Linked DNA regions of Homo sapiens: regions 1 and 2 are each linked to region 3. The links are contacts of gene promoters, found by promoter capture Hi-C in blood cells and fetal thymus (Javierre and others, 2016). All regions are on one chromosome and are shown on one strand. Each heading gives the region's core, a stretch centred on a gene start or on the middle of the fragment in contact. The rest is flanking DNA. Distances are from core to core; before and after follow the strand shown.

Evidence for each region. Contacts are between HindIII fragments. The CHiCAGO score rates a contact against its expected background, and 5 or more counts as called.
Region 1: a contact is called between a fragment that was not itself captured here and the fragment with the promoter of ATPSCKMT in region 3, in 1 of 17 cell types (naive CD4 T cells). The highest score is 5.0, in naive CD4 T cells.
Region 2: a fragment that was not itself captured here is called in contact with the fragment with the promoter of ATPSCKMT in region 3 in 2 of 17 cell types (monocytes and M2 macrophages); the score reaches 6.6 in monocytes.

The regions. Positions count from the first base shown.
Region 1 is chr5:8,455,704-8,460,189 of GRCh38, reverse strand. LINC02226 (long intergenic non-protein coding RNA 2226) reads left to right here and starts at 2,626. Exons shown (of 6, transcript NR_039984.1): 1 at 2,626-2,741. MIR4458HG (MIR4458 host gene) reads right to left here and starts at 2,503. Exons shown (of 2, transcript NR_039989.1): 1 at 2,424-2,503; 2 at 1-257. It also overlaps the pseudogene LOC100419318. RefSeq lists silencers at 2,174-2,233, 2,244-2,293 and an enhancer at 2,814-2,913. The HindIII fragment of the contact is 4,676 bases long and covers 85-4,486 here.
Region 2 is chr5:11,317,689-11,322,574 of GRCh38, reverse strand. All of the region lies in intron 9 of CTNND2 (catenin delta 2), which reads left to right. Among named protein-coding and RNA genes, the nearest start is that of CTD-2154B17.1, 530 kb to the right of the region's middle. The HindIII fragment of the contact is 2,583 bases long and covers 758-3,340 here.
Region 3 is chr5:10,246,946-10,251,795 of GRCh38, reverse strand. It overlaps ATPSCKMT (ATP synthase c subunit lysine N-methyltransferase), which reads left to right and starts at 1,908. Exons shown (of 5, transcript NM_199133.4): 1 at 1,908-1,938. The coding sequence starts at 1,923. It overlaps CCT5 (chaperonin containing TCP1 subunit 5), which reads right to left and starts at 1,516. Exons shown (of 11, transcript NM_012073.5): 1 at 1,351-1,516. The coding sequence starts at 1,455. RefSeq lists silencers at 366-588, 919-1,058, 1,129-1,198, 1,949-2,008, 2,019-2,138. The HindIII fragment of the contact is 6,282 bases long and covers 1,547-4,850 here.

The DNA.
Region 1 (4,486 bases), core at 1,173-3,672, 1.8 Mb after region 3:
TTCTTTTTAAAGAAACTTTTGTTGAGTGTTTACCCACCCCCATCCACACAAATATGCTCTCTAGGAAATGTGAAAGTATAAGCTTCAGAAAAATGTTTTTCTCATCCTTTAATTTCTGGTTTTATGATCAAATGTTCCGAAGACACTGCTTCTTTTTGCTCAAAATAGTTGACATTGTCATTGCTTCTAGTTTTTCAGCTCCTACTATGCTTACTATGTCCATGGGTGCCATTGACGTCTTTGGCTATTTATCATCTCTAGAAAAGAAAAAAAAACATTAAAATTTTAGGATGTAGGATTCACAATAAATCTCTTACCAAATCCTCCTTAAATCCCTAAACTCTCTACCTGGCTCTGACTCCAGGATCACCCTTTCAGTTCTTTCCATGTTTTTCTTCGGAAAATGTAGTTTCCTAACCTTTCTACCCACCCTTCTCGTCTACTCTTAGGTCTGCAGCCACAGTGATAGTTCTAAGTTGCAAACCTGATCATGTCCTTCCAGTACTTAGTCTTTCAAAAATCTTCCTACTTCCCGCAGAGTGAAGCCTGAACTCTTTAATAGGCATCTAAGGACTTGGACCCGGATCCTGTTAACCTGTTAATTCATCTTTGCCTCTAACTCCCTCCCTTCATCTTTCAAGGCACAGCGCAGGACTTAACTCATTGTGAAAGTACTAAGCCTTGATGTATCTTTAGGAAAAACACACGTATACACACACACGCATGCAAAGAGAGGAAGCATAGCTTAGTGGTTAACCTACATAGACTGCAACTTGCTTAAATAATCCAGTATTTATCTATGTTTTAATAAAATTGTTTTAATAAAAATATATGAAATTCATCTATCTTTTCTCTGGAATGCTTTTGCCTGTTCAAAGATTATACAATGCTCCCGTATGTTACAGAGGAAGCCGTCCCTTCATTTATAAAAGACAGTTAACACATAGCACAAAAACTCTAGAGTAGGATGGATCCGCAACTACTGTACTGGAAATATGCTAAATTAGGGTTCTGATTAGAGTTAATGGAATTAACTTGGGTGAGAGAAAATACTCACCATTAATCTAGGGGTAACAGAGGAGTTAAACTCCAATTCAGAAACAGAGCAGTTCAAAATCAGAATCTAGAGTCAGCCTACATGGGCTTGATCTGGGAATGTGCCCTTTATTAGACGTGTAACCTTGGGCTGCTGCTTGACTGAATAGGTCTTCGATTCCTCATGGAATGAATATAATAAGATCTGATGAATGCAATTAGACAGTGCCTGAAACAGTAGTCTTAAGTAGGTATTTTTGTTGTCCCACTTTTTGAGAAACAAAACCAAAGTCAATTCAATTAAAACTGCAGGTTTCTTGATTTCATCCTAATACTTTGCAAATTAATCACAGAACCCAAGTGAAATTGCCTAGACTCTCAAAGAGTTCGAAAAACATTTCTAATACACTCAAAATTTTCCTAGTTGACGTTCACAGATTATCAAGAGTAAAGCACCTTCATACAGTTTTGATCCTCACACTGTCTAAATCTGAGGAGCTGTCAGGAAAGACATGTAAGGAGAGATCTAAGCTAAAACTCAAACCACACATGAGGCTTTTCAACTGTGACCAACTTGTAGTTAAAATTCAGTTTATGCTTTTCTGTCCACCTAAGAGCAAATTAAACCTTTAAGAAAGCAAAGGATAAAATCATTGTTAGCTCAAGCATTAAAAAAGAAAATAACTGAATATATCTTCTTCAACTCTCCACCCCTAGGGATGAGAACTGCACCTGGCAAACAAGAGGACATTCAACACGTAGTAGCTGTTAAAATGAGTAACTCCCCAAAAGCACTATTAGAAGGCGATATAGTTATTATGACCAAGTTCTGCGGAAACATGGTGTTGAAAACCTTACTGAAGCTAACAATGTGCGTCACCTTCCAGGAGCCACACACACATCCTGAGGGCTTCCCAGATCAACCCCTCATCCCCGCGACAGAGCCACAATCCAGCACCACCTTCCCAGGACTCTCAGCTGAGGCCCCAGCCCCCGCAGGCCCAGGGACGACGCGGCGGGCAGGGCACATGCCTGCGTCGGGCCAGGTGGAAGCTCGGAACGACCACAGGCCCCCGGGGCGCGCCCCTCCCCGTCACGCGCCCCGTTTCCCACGTCCACGCATGCGGTTTCCCCAGGCCTGGAAAGCGTCTAGAGCCAAAGAGCCCAGGGGCTTGCCCGCGCAGAGGCCGACGTGGGGCCCAGGGACGCGCTCCCGGGGTCCTCCCCGCCGAGCCCGCAGCCAGCACCCGGAGCGATCCCCCGAGCCCGAGGGGCGTGGGAACCACGCGCGCAAGCCGGCTGCCCTTCCAGTCCCGGGACGCTTCCCCATCAGGCCAGTGCTAGGCGGGCGGTCGGGACCCGGGGATCGCAGCCTCCGGAGCGCTCACCTGGGTGGCGCAGGCCAAGGACGCCCATGGACAGCGCGACCTCCTCCCATTCCACACACGCGCCCACGACCAAAGTGCGCATGCTCGACACCTGGGACCAATAGGAATCTCGGTCCGAGGGTAGCTGGGGCCAATCACAGCGCGTCTGGCGTGTGGGCGGTGTCTCCTCGTGTTACGCGTGCGCGGAGGGGCTGCGCTACCCGGTCTTGGGTTTTTCATCGGGGAGTGGGAGTGGACTGAAGGCTTGGCCGCTCCGCCTCACTGAGCCGGCTCAGCCAGCGCAGCTGTTCCTGGAACGCCAGTCCCTTAGGATGGGAGGTACTTTCATCTCGAAGAGGGCCGTGGCGTCTGGAGCTTCCCTCCCTTCTGTCCTGCTGAGTCATCCCCGCGTCGCCTGCGAGGCCGCGAGGCGTTTAGGTCTGGGCAGGCCGCCTTTTCCCCATCACGAGATCCTGTTATTTTACTGTTTCATTCTTTTTCTCACTTTCCTATTTGTTAAGCCAAACTTTTTCCTTCCATAGACGTGACCCCTTAGAAGGCTACCCATGCCTCGACATATCTGACATTTGACGTTTTACTCAAATAATTTGCCAAAGTCTATTGCCTTTTTTAACTTCTATTTTCTAAAGCTAGTTTGATACTAATCAACACAGTTTTTTCAACAAGCATGTAAGTGTGCATATTCTAGACATGCGCGGCCTGAGTTTAACCCATCTGCTACTAATTTGTGTTGTCTCGGAATATTATCTAATCCCGTGCTTCAGTTCTCATATATAAACTGAAACTTTATAGATTCACTGGTGGCCTGTAAGCCTGGCCTGTAAGCCTTAAGTTGAAACATGGAGCATATCAGAACTGTGCCTGGCACGTGGTGAAATGTTCAAAAGTTAGTATTGTTATTAGGTGCTGGGCACTTTTCTAGGCTTTGGGATATAGAGATCAATGTCCCTGATGTCCTGGTGTTTATAATTTATTGTGGACACTTTGCTATTTTTTTGGATACAGATCTTTATTTTCATAAACATGGATAATTTTCATTGAGTGCAGTGTGATCTCAATTGATACTTTTGTAGTATTTCATCATTATGCTTATATTCTTTTTAAAATTTAGGTACTGTTGAGGGAAAGTGAGAATGACATGATTTTGATAACATGGTAGAACCTTTTTCATTCATCTGGTGTTGCCACACTGGGGCTCTGGGTGCTTTATGAATCATGTTCACAAGTCATACTTGTGTCTGTCCATGGTTCTTTTCACTACAGCCACCATAGTTCAGGGTGAGATTTTTCACACCGACTGTAAAGATTTATCTGTGGAAAATGGTAATGAGCTTGCCTGGTTGATGTCCTGTTGTTTTCCCAAGTACATACTTGGAAGAGAGTGAACAGAAGACTAAAACGTGGGTCAACAGATGTTTTGCAGTGAGCTAAAAAATAATTGACTTCACTAGAACAACTGCTTGATATTCTACAGCAGTTTTGCAGGTTTCTGAAGTGGAAGAAGCAGATAGTGATGGAATGCTGCTAAAAGAAATATAAGAGAATAATAACACCCTTGGTGCTTGTTAATTTCATTTTGAATTTTTTTTTTTTAAGTTGTCAGTTACATGTTTGGTGACTGCTTTGAAAGTTCTGATTCTGTTGCATGTGGATCCACAAGGTAGCTTAGGAAGCCTGATGGCAGAATACAAATTGTCTTAAAAGAGTTCATAGGTATTCACAATCTTTGTATTGAAGAAAGTATGATGAAACTCCCCAGGTCCAGTTAGGGCAGCACTGGGAATGCAAGGTGAGAAATTGGAAGAATTTACCACACACAAAAAAATGATGTGTCTGTATTAGTCCATTCTTGTATTGCTATAAAGAAATACCTGAGACTGGGTAGTTTATAAAGAAAAGAGGTTTAATTGGCTCACAGTTCTGCAGGCTGTACAAGCATGCTGCTGGCATCTGTTAGACTTCCAGGGGAAGCCTCAGGGAGCTTTTATTCATGGTGGAAGGCCAGCAGGAGGAAGAGAGAAAAGTGGTGGGGAGGTGCCACAATTTACAGCAACCAGATCTTG
Region 2 (4,886 bases), core at 800-3,299, 1.1 Mb before region 3:
AAATATTGAAAAATGAATCAACCCAGTGTAGCTTTGTTGCTTTTATATATAGAGTGAAATGACACTTCAGTGGAACTCTTGTGTGGGATAGTGCATTTATATCACCAGTCTTTTTTGGAGGCAATTCATAAATGCTTATTGCATAATATTATTATGCAACTATGCTTTCATTATGTCAACAGAGATTCTCTGTGGCAAGCACTGTGGTAACATTAAAATTACCAAGATGAGTAAGATACGTCTGCATCTTCAAGAAACTTTGGGACCTCTGCGGGAAAATGACAGACCTGCAGTTTCAGTACTGCAACACATGAAGTGAAAATGCTGGGCACTGATATCATGGGAGGCTGAGCAGGAGCAGTTAGCATGGGCAGGAAGAGAGAGGCTTTCTACAGCAAGCTGCATGAGGCAATTGAAGAATAGGCTACTTAAGTGAGGTTCATGATGGGTTTCTGCAAAAGAAAGAGTATGATGCGTATAGAGAAGCAAAAGTTACTGATCATGGGAGTTGCAGTCGTGTGGAGGGAGGGATAGAACAGGACACCACCAGAGGCGTTGTGTGGCAGGCCCAGTTTCCAACAGAGCTCCCCAGGGCTTTCCATTTTTCTGGGGGCTTGGACCTGGGAGGTAACATAACCAGATGTATTCATTGTGCTTGGAATCATGGCCATAAGGAGTGGGGAGATAGGGTTAAGCTTTAGGAAGCTCACCTCTGCTTTAGAATCAGACATGGGAGGACAGTACTATAAGCCAAGCTTCATGCTGAAAATCTCTAGGAAAGAATCACCAAGAACCATGTTCATTACGTTAGTGTGTTTGTGTGTGTGTGATGTGTGTGCATGCATGTGTGTGTGTGGTGCATATGTGCATTGGGGGGTTATTTATTTCTCCAGTCTCTGAAACAGGGACTGTCCCTCACAAGTTTCCCATCTTTCTCTTGCAGCTGTATTACTTTCCATCTTTTATGAACTTCTCACAATCCCTACTTCACATTTTTAATACATCATTCTCAAGATGCCTTGGGTTGATAAGGATGACTTTTGCAGCTATTACAGGGCTTTCTTAAATAGCAATATGTGCAGGCATGATGGAGAAGGTTGTAAGGTTGGCAGTAAGTCACAGCTATTTGTCCCTGGCTTGGTGGCTACTGTTTAAACCTTCCAACCTTGTCCAGTTACCACCATCAACCAAGCAAATCATGGAGGTGATCCCAGAGCAGGGCCCAGCATGCATGGTGGAGAACACAGTATAATGTTGATTTGACGTAATAATCTTATTATCAACACAATATCTGCAAGTGACAAAAATGGAAAATCAAATTCCTTTTTAATGTTGCAACACACATATGTAGAAACTCACTGTTGTATAAAACATTATCCATTTTTATGTCAATTTTCCCGATCACTTAAACTGTTTTAATTCTCTTTTGCTTGGTGGTAGATCCATTACCATTTCAGTTTTATGTTACGAACAGTAGAAAGATGATAAAACTGGTCTTTAGAATGTGTTATTTAGCTCTGCATTTATTTGAGAAAAAAGGTCATATGCATACATTTTCAACTTAGAAAATATTATTTATTGCATAACATTTTAAAAACATCTTGATGTTTATCAAATTCAAAAAATAGATTGTGTAAAGCTATGTTAAATTCTGTTTCTTTAATCGTAGGAATTGGTGTCACTTTCCTAATTTTCTAAGATTAACCAGGGCCTATTTTAGAAATTTGCTTTAAGATACTTGATATGTTTGGCTTTGTGTCCCCACCTAAATCTCATCTTATAGCTCACATACCTCCCACGTGTTGTGGGAGGGATCCGGTGGGAGATGATTGAATCATGGGGGCGGGTCTTTCCCATGCTGTTCTCATGATAGTGAATGGGATCTGATGGTTTTTAAAATGGGAGTTTCTACGCACAAGCTCCCTCTTTGCCTCTTGCCATCCACGTAAGATGTGACTTGCTCTTCCTTGCCTTCCACCATGGTTGTGAGGCCCCCACCCAGCCATGTGGAACTGTAAGTCCAATTAATCTCTTTCTCTTGTAAATTTCCTAGTCTCGGGTATGTCTTTATCAGCAGCATGAAAATGGACTAATACAATACTTTTTCCTTTTCAGTTCTTCAGCTGATTGGGTGTTTGGTATGCTGTACTATTTTCTCACCCACAGAGGATTTTTTAAACCATGACATAGTAGCTGGTTTGTCTGAGGACACCAGTGTTTAGATAAACAAGAAACCTAGTGGAGAAAAAAAACTGAAGCAACTTTACTTATGTGAGTGAAAGTGAAATATATTAATGTTTATGAAGAACAACTTTTTTCCTGTCAAAACCTGCCAACCACATTTACAGAAACTAAAGAAAAAAGAGAGTTACACAAAATATTGTATTTGAGCATCGATTTAATTTCCTTTTGATATTTACCTGTGTTGTAAGTGAACTATGCCAGTTGAATGCAATTGAGCAGTGCCTATGACTAATGAACTGGAATGTAAACTCCGTGCAGAATGGTCAGAACCGCTGGGTGTCGTTTCCATTTCAAATGTGATTAGTGTTCTCAGAGTTCAGCTCAGTGCCTGTGTATATGCAGTGTCCATTTGTGAGCCTGCCAAAGCGGGCCTGACAACTTCATGGAAACAGGAAACACGTTATGCATTTCACACTAAAATATGACAGGCTAAAATATTCTGATCATCAGCTGAAGAAAATCCAAAAAAACAAATACATGAAAAAATACAGATAACTGTAGACTTCTTCAGGCCATGCACAGTGGCTCACGCCTGTAATCCCAGCACTTTGGGAGGCCGAGGCTGGTGGATCACCTAAGGTCAGGAGTTCGAGACCAGCGTGGCCAACATGGTGAAACCCTGTCTCTACTAAAAATTTAAAAATTAGCCAGGTGTGGTGGCAGGAGCCTGTAATCCCAGCTGCTTGGGAGGCTAAGGCAGGAGGATCGCTTGAACAGAAGAGGCAGAAGTTGTGGTGATCTGAGATTGTGCCATTGCACTCTAGCCTGGGCGACAGAGTGAGACTCTGTCTCAAAAATAAATAAATAAAAATAAACGAATAAATAAATAAAGACACTATAGACTTCTGTGGTTTGTCACACACAAAAACTTTGCAAATGACTTCACAGGATGATTTTAAATAGGATATCCGTTGAATAGACATTTTAATTTATAAATATTTATTTTACATATTCTTAAAACTCTCTAATTTTACACAAAATTATTGTGTAGGTCTTTAACCTTCTTTATTCAACAAATACTTATTGAGTATAAACCATGGGCTTGGCTCTGTTCCAGGTATTGGAAAACAGGCACAGTTTCTGTTCTGTTGAAGCTTATCTAGTAGTCAGAAGAAAGAGACATGCAACAAATAAACACAATCTTAAGTAGATAGAAGGTTCTACAGAAAATGAGGCAAGGTAAGGAGATTGGGAATGAGAGGTGTGCCACTTTACATGAGGTGGTCAGGGAAAGCCATAGAAGTGAGTTTGTGGCTCAGTTTGCTCAAGAGTAAAATGAGGATAATAACAGCCCTCTGTTAACAATTGCTGTGTAGAGTAATTTGAGTTAAATATACAGCATGCTTAAAACAGTGCCTGACATTATATAAGTATGTTCTCTCATTATTAATATATATATTATTATTATTATAGACATTTCTATATGTTTTTTCTAGGGGTGGGTTAGAGAGAGAAAAATGGGGCAGCACCTAGAGTGGTTGCATGTGTTGTGACTGTTTGCTTTGTTCTATTTCAGATAAGAGCTTTTACAGCATGTTTTTATGCAGGTGGGAATGCCACCGAAGAAGGATAAAACTTGGTGGGGCGGAAGAAAGAGGGCATCGTTGTAAGGAAGGATCTTACCTATGGGAAAAGGAATGGATTTAGTGGTGTCAAAGGGAAAGGGGACGATTTGTCTACATTTTCACAAAAGCAAAGGCACAGTAGATGAGAACAAATCCAGTTGGGTTGAAGGATCTGGTGAGGAGAGGGTGACTTTTTGTTTTCTCACTGAGAAAAGAAATCAGGTTCTTGCTTGAGCATGAGGAGGGGCCTAAGAGCTAAGGATTGAGGGTTAGGATTGGGGTGCCCATCCTGTACGTGGGAGGGGGCATGGACTGGAGAGGGAGGTGGAACTGCCTGCCACACAGGGCTGAGTGCCCACTTGAAGGGAGTGGTTGTAAATTCAGAGGACAACCTTCAGCATGGCTTGATGTTTGTCTTTGGTCACGTTCAGGACCTGGGACAAAGGAGGCAGTGAGTCAGGCCTCCTCTGAGGTTGCCTGGTGAACACCATGGAGGGACAGGAAGAAGGGATGATAGCAGGGGACTTTGGGTCTAGCCTGGTGGGGAGAGCCAGAGAATGAGGGAGTGATGGACAGAGGGAAGGTGGTGGTTCCGTGTACTGGAGTTTCTTTTGGGTTCATAAAGAAAGAATTCAGATTCCTTGAGTCTACCAAAGTCAGTAGAATGCAGCTCAGTCCTGTACTTCACCAGAGGGACTGAGGGTTCCCTGAGCACCTCTGAGCATGCCACACATGCTCATTGGCAGGAGGGCAAGGACATGGTTCAACACCTAACTCTGGAACTCTGCTCAGCATGGCAGGGGCTCCACTACAAAGAAGCATAAAAATCCAGATACTATTTTAGTACCGTGATCCATGTGGTGCTACATTTGAAGCCCTGCACCCTTTCAGACATCTGATGGAAGCTCTGGGCATCTTCACATTTCCATCTTTGCATAGATCCATACTTGTAGAATTCTGCATTTAATTTTAGGGTTACTTGAGCATGAGAGAATCCTGTCTGTGGACCTACGAACCTCAGGTTAAGGATCAAGGCTTTCAAAGACTGCATTACCTATATCAATTATAAAAAAAAAT
Region 3 (4,850 bases), core at 659-3,158:
AATGGAATACATAATACAATTAGCTTGAAACTTTTTCTTTCTAGAAAGGAAACAAATACTGAGTGCCTACCGTGGATCAACCACTGTGCAGCCCCTCTAAGTCACTCCATTTAATATCACTGTCAAGTCTTCAGCTTGACGGAGGCCTATCACCTCCCCCTGGAAAAGGAGGTTCCGCGAGGTTGTGTAACTAGCACTAAGTCAAACAAAGAGTCCATAGGGGAACTGTATTGTTTCTAACTTTGCGTAAGTAAACCTCCAAGACACTAAGTGAACAGGGACACCTGAGAGACCTAGTGGAATGGTCTATTATGAATTCACTTTATAACAAACCCTGAAGGCCCTCTCGGAGTGTCCCTTCCTCTGCATTTTCTGTCAACGTCTGGTGCTCAGATGTTTCTTACCTGCACCCCTGCCCTGGTTTCTTTAACCCCTCTGGTCTTCCTTATTCCCTTCGGTCTATCTCAAGCTTTGCTGCCTGAAGTGCAGCTCTACTGAAATTCTGCTCAAAACCCCCTCAATGGCTCCCCTTCTTCCCCAAAGATAACGTCGTATTTTCCATGTTGGGCATTCAATAGCTTCCACCTTCGGGAACTATTGTAAGTTAAAGAAGTCAGTGCTCCATTAAAACCGGATGGCTCTTCCATTCTACAACGTGCCATGCGCATTCTTGCCCAAGCCTTTACTTCTACCGTTTCCTCTCCCTAGAATGCTACCTCTCACCCCGATCTAAAGCTGTCCTCCAGCACCACGCTTATGTGCACCCTCTCCGTAGCTGTCCTTCTCACTGCACACCACCTTGTATTACGGTTATGTGCGTCCGTTTTTCACTCTTCGCTATTTTTCCTCAAGGGTGGGCAAAAAAGCACTCAGAAATGAAATACCCTGTTAAGTGACCACACCTTTACGAGTGACAAAGAAAACGGAAGGGCCGTTGCGGGTGGACCAGCGAAAGGTTAAGCAGCAGCGCCTTAACCGACAGGTGACAGAGCATCTCCCCGGCGCCCTCCCACTGGAGCGCAGTCCCACGCGGCCGTCAGGCTGGAGGAGCCGGGCGGGGAGGCGGTCCCGCTTTGCTCCCGCGGGCGACCGGACTGAGCGGCCCCACCCAGCTCCGAAGGGCGCTGGCGGCCCAGCCTGGCTGGCCCCCACATTCCGAGCCCAGGATTAGGCGCCGGCGTCTCCCGAGCTCAGTAAGCGGGCTGAGCGGCCGGAGACCGCAGGGAGACGGAGATTCTCGACCTTTCCGGGGAGCACATGGCAGAGCCGCTCCTCAACTCGCGCAGGCGCAGAGCCACGGCCTCGGCCACCTCCCCTTAGCCCACCGCGAGCAGGTCCCTGTGCCATTACCTTGAGGGCCTCAAGTCCCATAAGACGGGACTTGCGGTCCTGATCCTTGATGATGAGGAAAGGGCGCCCATATTCATCGAAGGCGAGGGTCCCCATGGACGCCATGGTGCAACAACCGGAATTACTTCCCCCCAACCGGCGGAGACCGCTACGGAAGCGAGAATGCACTTCCCTTTCTCGGGAGGGCCCAAAAGCTTGCGCACGCGCAGCACAAGACGCGCGGGACTTATGTTTCTACTGAGACTAATTTCACGCCAGACAGTATCTTCTGGAATCGGCGGCCTTCGGGAACTTCTATTATCCAGGAAGCCGGGGAGGGGGAGGTTTGAAGACACTTAGTGGAAATCTTAGGACACACAAGTCAAGAGCAGATTGAATTTGTCATTTTTTAAAACGTTACCACTGATAGTTTCTCGATAGTGGGTCCCAAGGAGGAATTCATTGACTTAAAGCACTATTTCTTTATTTCTTCGCACTCCGGCTCCGAGAAGATGGTAGGACCCATTTCCGGTTTTTTTTTTTTTTTTTTTTTTTTTTTTTTTTTTTTTAAAAACGCTGTTGGAAATCTCGCGATGGAGGGAGGAGGAGGTGAGGCTGGAGCGGCTTGGCGGGTTCCTGGGGGCATGAGAAGGGGTGCGGGCGGGCCGGGGGCTCGCGGTCAGCTGAGGTCTCCACTGTCGAGGCGGTGACCGGGTGCGGGCGGCTGCTCTGGCCTCCAGCCTGGCCTTCGGTGACCAGAGCTCCTGGTCGCCGCGCGGTGCCCGCGCCGGTTCTGGCGATCCTTGTCGGCGGGCGCGTTTCCCCAGAGACTGTTCTAGGCTACTTAGTGCAAGTGACTCAGCCTTTGGCACGATCTTAAGGAATAGGGATAGTGGAGGCACACTGATGGATTGGAATCGCAGTTCTGCCGCTCTTCCTAGCTGTGGCTTTGAGGAAATCCCTTAACTTCTTTGTCCCTCGGGTTCCCTGTCTGCAAAGTGACGGTGGTAACAGTAGTGCCTACTCACAGGGCTGCTGTGAGATTCAAGGAGAACGGTGCCTGGCAAGCTGAACACAGTGTTGGTAAATAAATTAACATTTTGCACAAATGGTTCAGTAACTTGCCACTGGTATACAGCTAGTAAGAAACAGTTACACAGCCTGATGCAATGGGTCCCACACTCTTTTTTTTTTTTTTTTTTTTTGAGACAAGACTGTAGCCCGGGCTGGAGTGCAGTGGCGCGGTCTCGGCTCACTGCAGCCTCCGCCTCCCGGGTTCCAGTGATTCTCGTGCCTCAGCCTCCCAGGCAGCTGGGACTACAGGCACAGAACCACCACGCTCGCTAATTTTTGTATTTTTAGTAGAGACGGTGTTAACGCCGTAGTGGCCAGGCTGGTCTCGAACGGCTGACCTCAAGTGATGTACCCGTCTAGGTCTCCCCAAGTGTTGGGCCTGAGCCACCGCGGTGCCCGGCAGGTCTCACTCTTAAGCCCTGTATTATGCTGCCTCAGAAAGATCTTGGCAACCGCAGCTGTCCTCTAAATCTCTTATGCTGCCTTCCTCCCCGCCCTCCAAGATCATGACTTAATATTTGATAGGTTTAGATTTATTTGTTGAGGGTTTCCATCCTTGCTTCTCCCCTACTGCCATGGGCAGGGACTTAACTAATAAAGTTGTATTATTCCCAGACTTTATTAGGCACTCAATAAGTGCTGAAATGAATACATGCACTATAACATTTGACCCTGTCCTGAAACTCAAGAACAGACTTGGCGACTGTGTTCCCATCTACTCTGGGGCTGAGGCAGGAGGATGGGTGGAGCCCAGGAGTTCAGTTTACAGTGCGCTATAATCGCGCCACTGCACTCCATCCTGGGCGACAGAGCGAGATTCTGTCTCTAAAAACAGGGAGGACTGACTGTCATGGGATGGTTGGTGATCTGTTAACTCTTCATGCTTGGCATACTTACGCGCTAGACCTTGAAGTGTTCTTCAAGGACATTTTAGATTTTGGAGTCAGGTCTTATTTCACGTTAGCTTTGCCAATTCAGTGTTTCCTCATTAAAAATGGTGACTTCTGCAATTCATTTGGCTCCTTCGATTGTTGTGAAAAATAGAATGTCCTATGGCATCCTCTGTGTAGTTGATTCCCTGTCAAAACACTGGGGAGTGAGAGAGGATTTTTCCTAATATCAATAGCTCATGTATGTCAAAAGGACACAAATGACATTAGACTAGTATAAGAAAGGCTTCTTAAGGACATAAGAATATATGCTAAAGGGACATAACATATGCTGTAGTTATTAAACAGGTATGCACATACAAGTGCACAATGAACAGTCCTTATGAGTTGTGACATTCTGATATAAGCCCGCTTTAAACACGTGGCTAGTTACTATTCCTAACAGGCTCCTTCTCTCTTCTTGGCCTTTTTCTTTTGGCTTGAACTTGGATAAGAACCTTGGGTACCTTATTGTACATCTGTCACTGCCTCTAGCTTCAGCTGATCCAAATCTGCCACTAAAAATTGAAGTTTTCAACCAATATTAGAAGTCAATAAGCAAGCAGGGCCCGGACACAGTAGAAGTTAACCTCATTCTGTGTTTGACTTTAAAGGATGGACTACTAAGTGCTCAATGAAAGTAGCCAGTGGCCACTGCAGCCATTATTTAATAGAATGGCTCCTTGTTCCAAAGAACACCTGAAAGAAAGTTCTTGCCATTTATATATAGGATAGTCTGGGAGTCTGAACATGTTCCGTTAGAAGGATTTGTAGAAACAGTCTTGATTTTAGTTTTGAATATTCAGGGCCTGATTTTTACTGATAAGAATCAATACAGGTCCTGGCATGGAGGCACTTTAGGAGGCTGAGGCGAGAGAATTGCTTGAGCCCAGGAGTTTGAGACCAGCCTGGGCAACATAGGGAGACCCTGTCTCTAAAGAAAAAAATTTAAAAAATTAGCTGGGTGTGGTGGCATGTGCCTGTAGTCCCAGCTACCTGGGAGGCTGAAGTGGGAGGATCGTTTGAGCCTGAGAGGTCAAGGCTGTGGTGAGCTGTGATTGTGCTACTGCACTCCAGCCTGGACGACAGAGTGAGACCCCATCGCAAAAAGGAATCAATTGTTTTTCCTGAATGGAGCTAACAATGTAGTTCCTATATTGTACATCCTATATTGGATGTACATAGTAACTTCTTCCAAAGCTCCAGCAATGGGTATGGATCTTGATTTCCCCATGCAAATGTTTGTTACGTTGCAAGACTTGCAGGCATCAAAACCTGGGACAGAAAATAGAATGATTTCATCAAGAGACTCATTGCCCCTGTGTTGCCTTTCTTAAAAACACAAATATTATGGTGACTTTGCTCAAAAAGTTTCATCACAGTGCACATAGAATAAAATACACATTCAGCCTGGCCTTCAGAGGCCTGCCTTCCTGTTTGTCTCTCACTCTGTGCTCCAGAAAGGCTTTCCCTGCCTTCCACACCTTGGTTCCAAGGCTTGCTGCTTTTGGCTCCAGC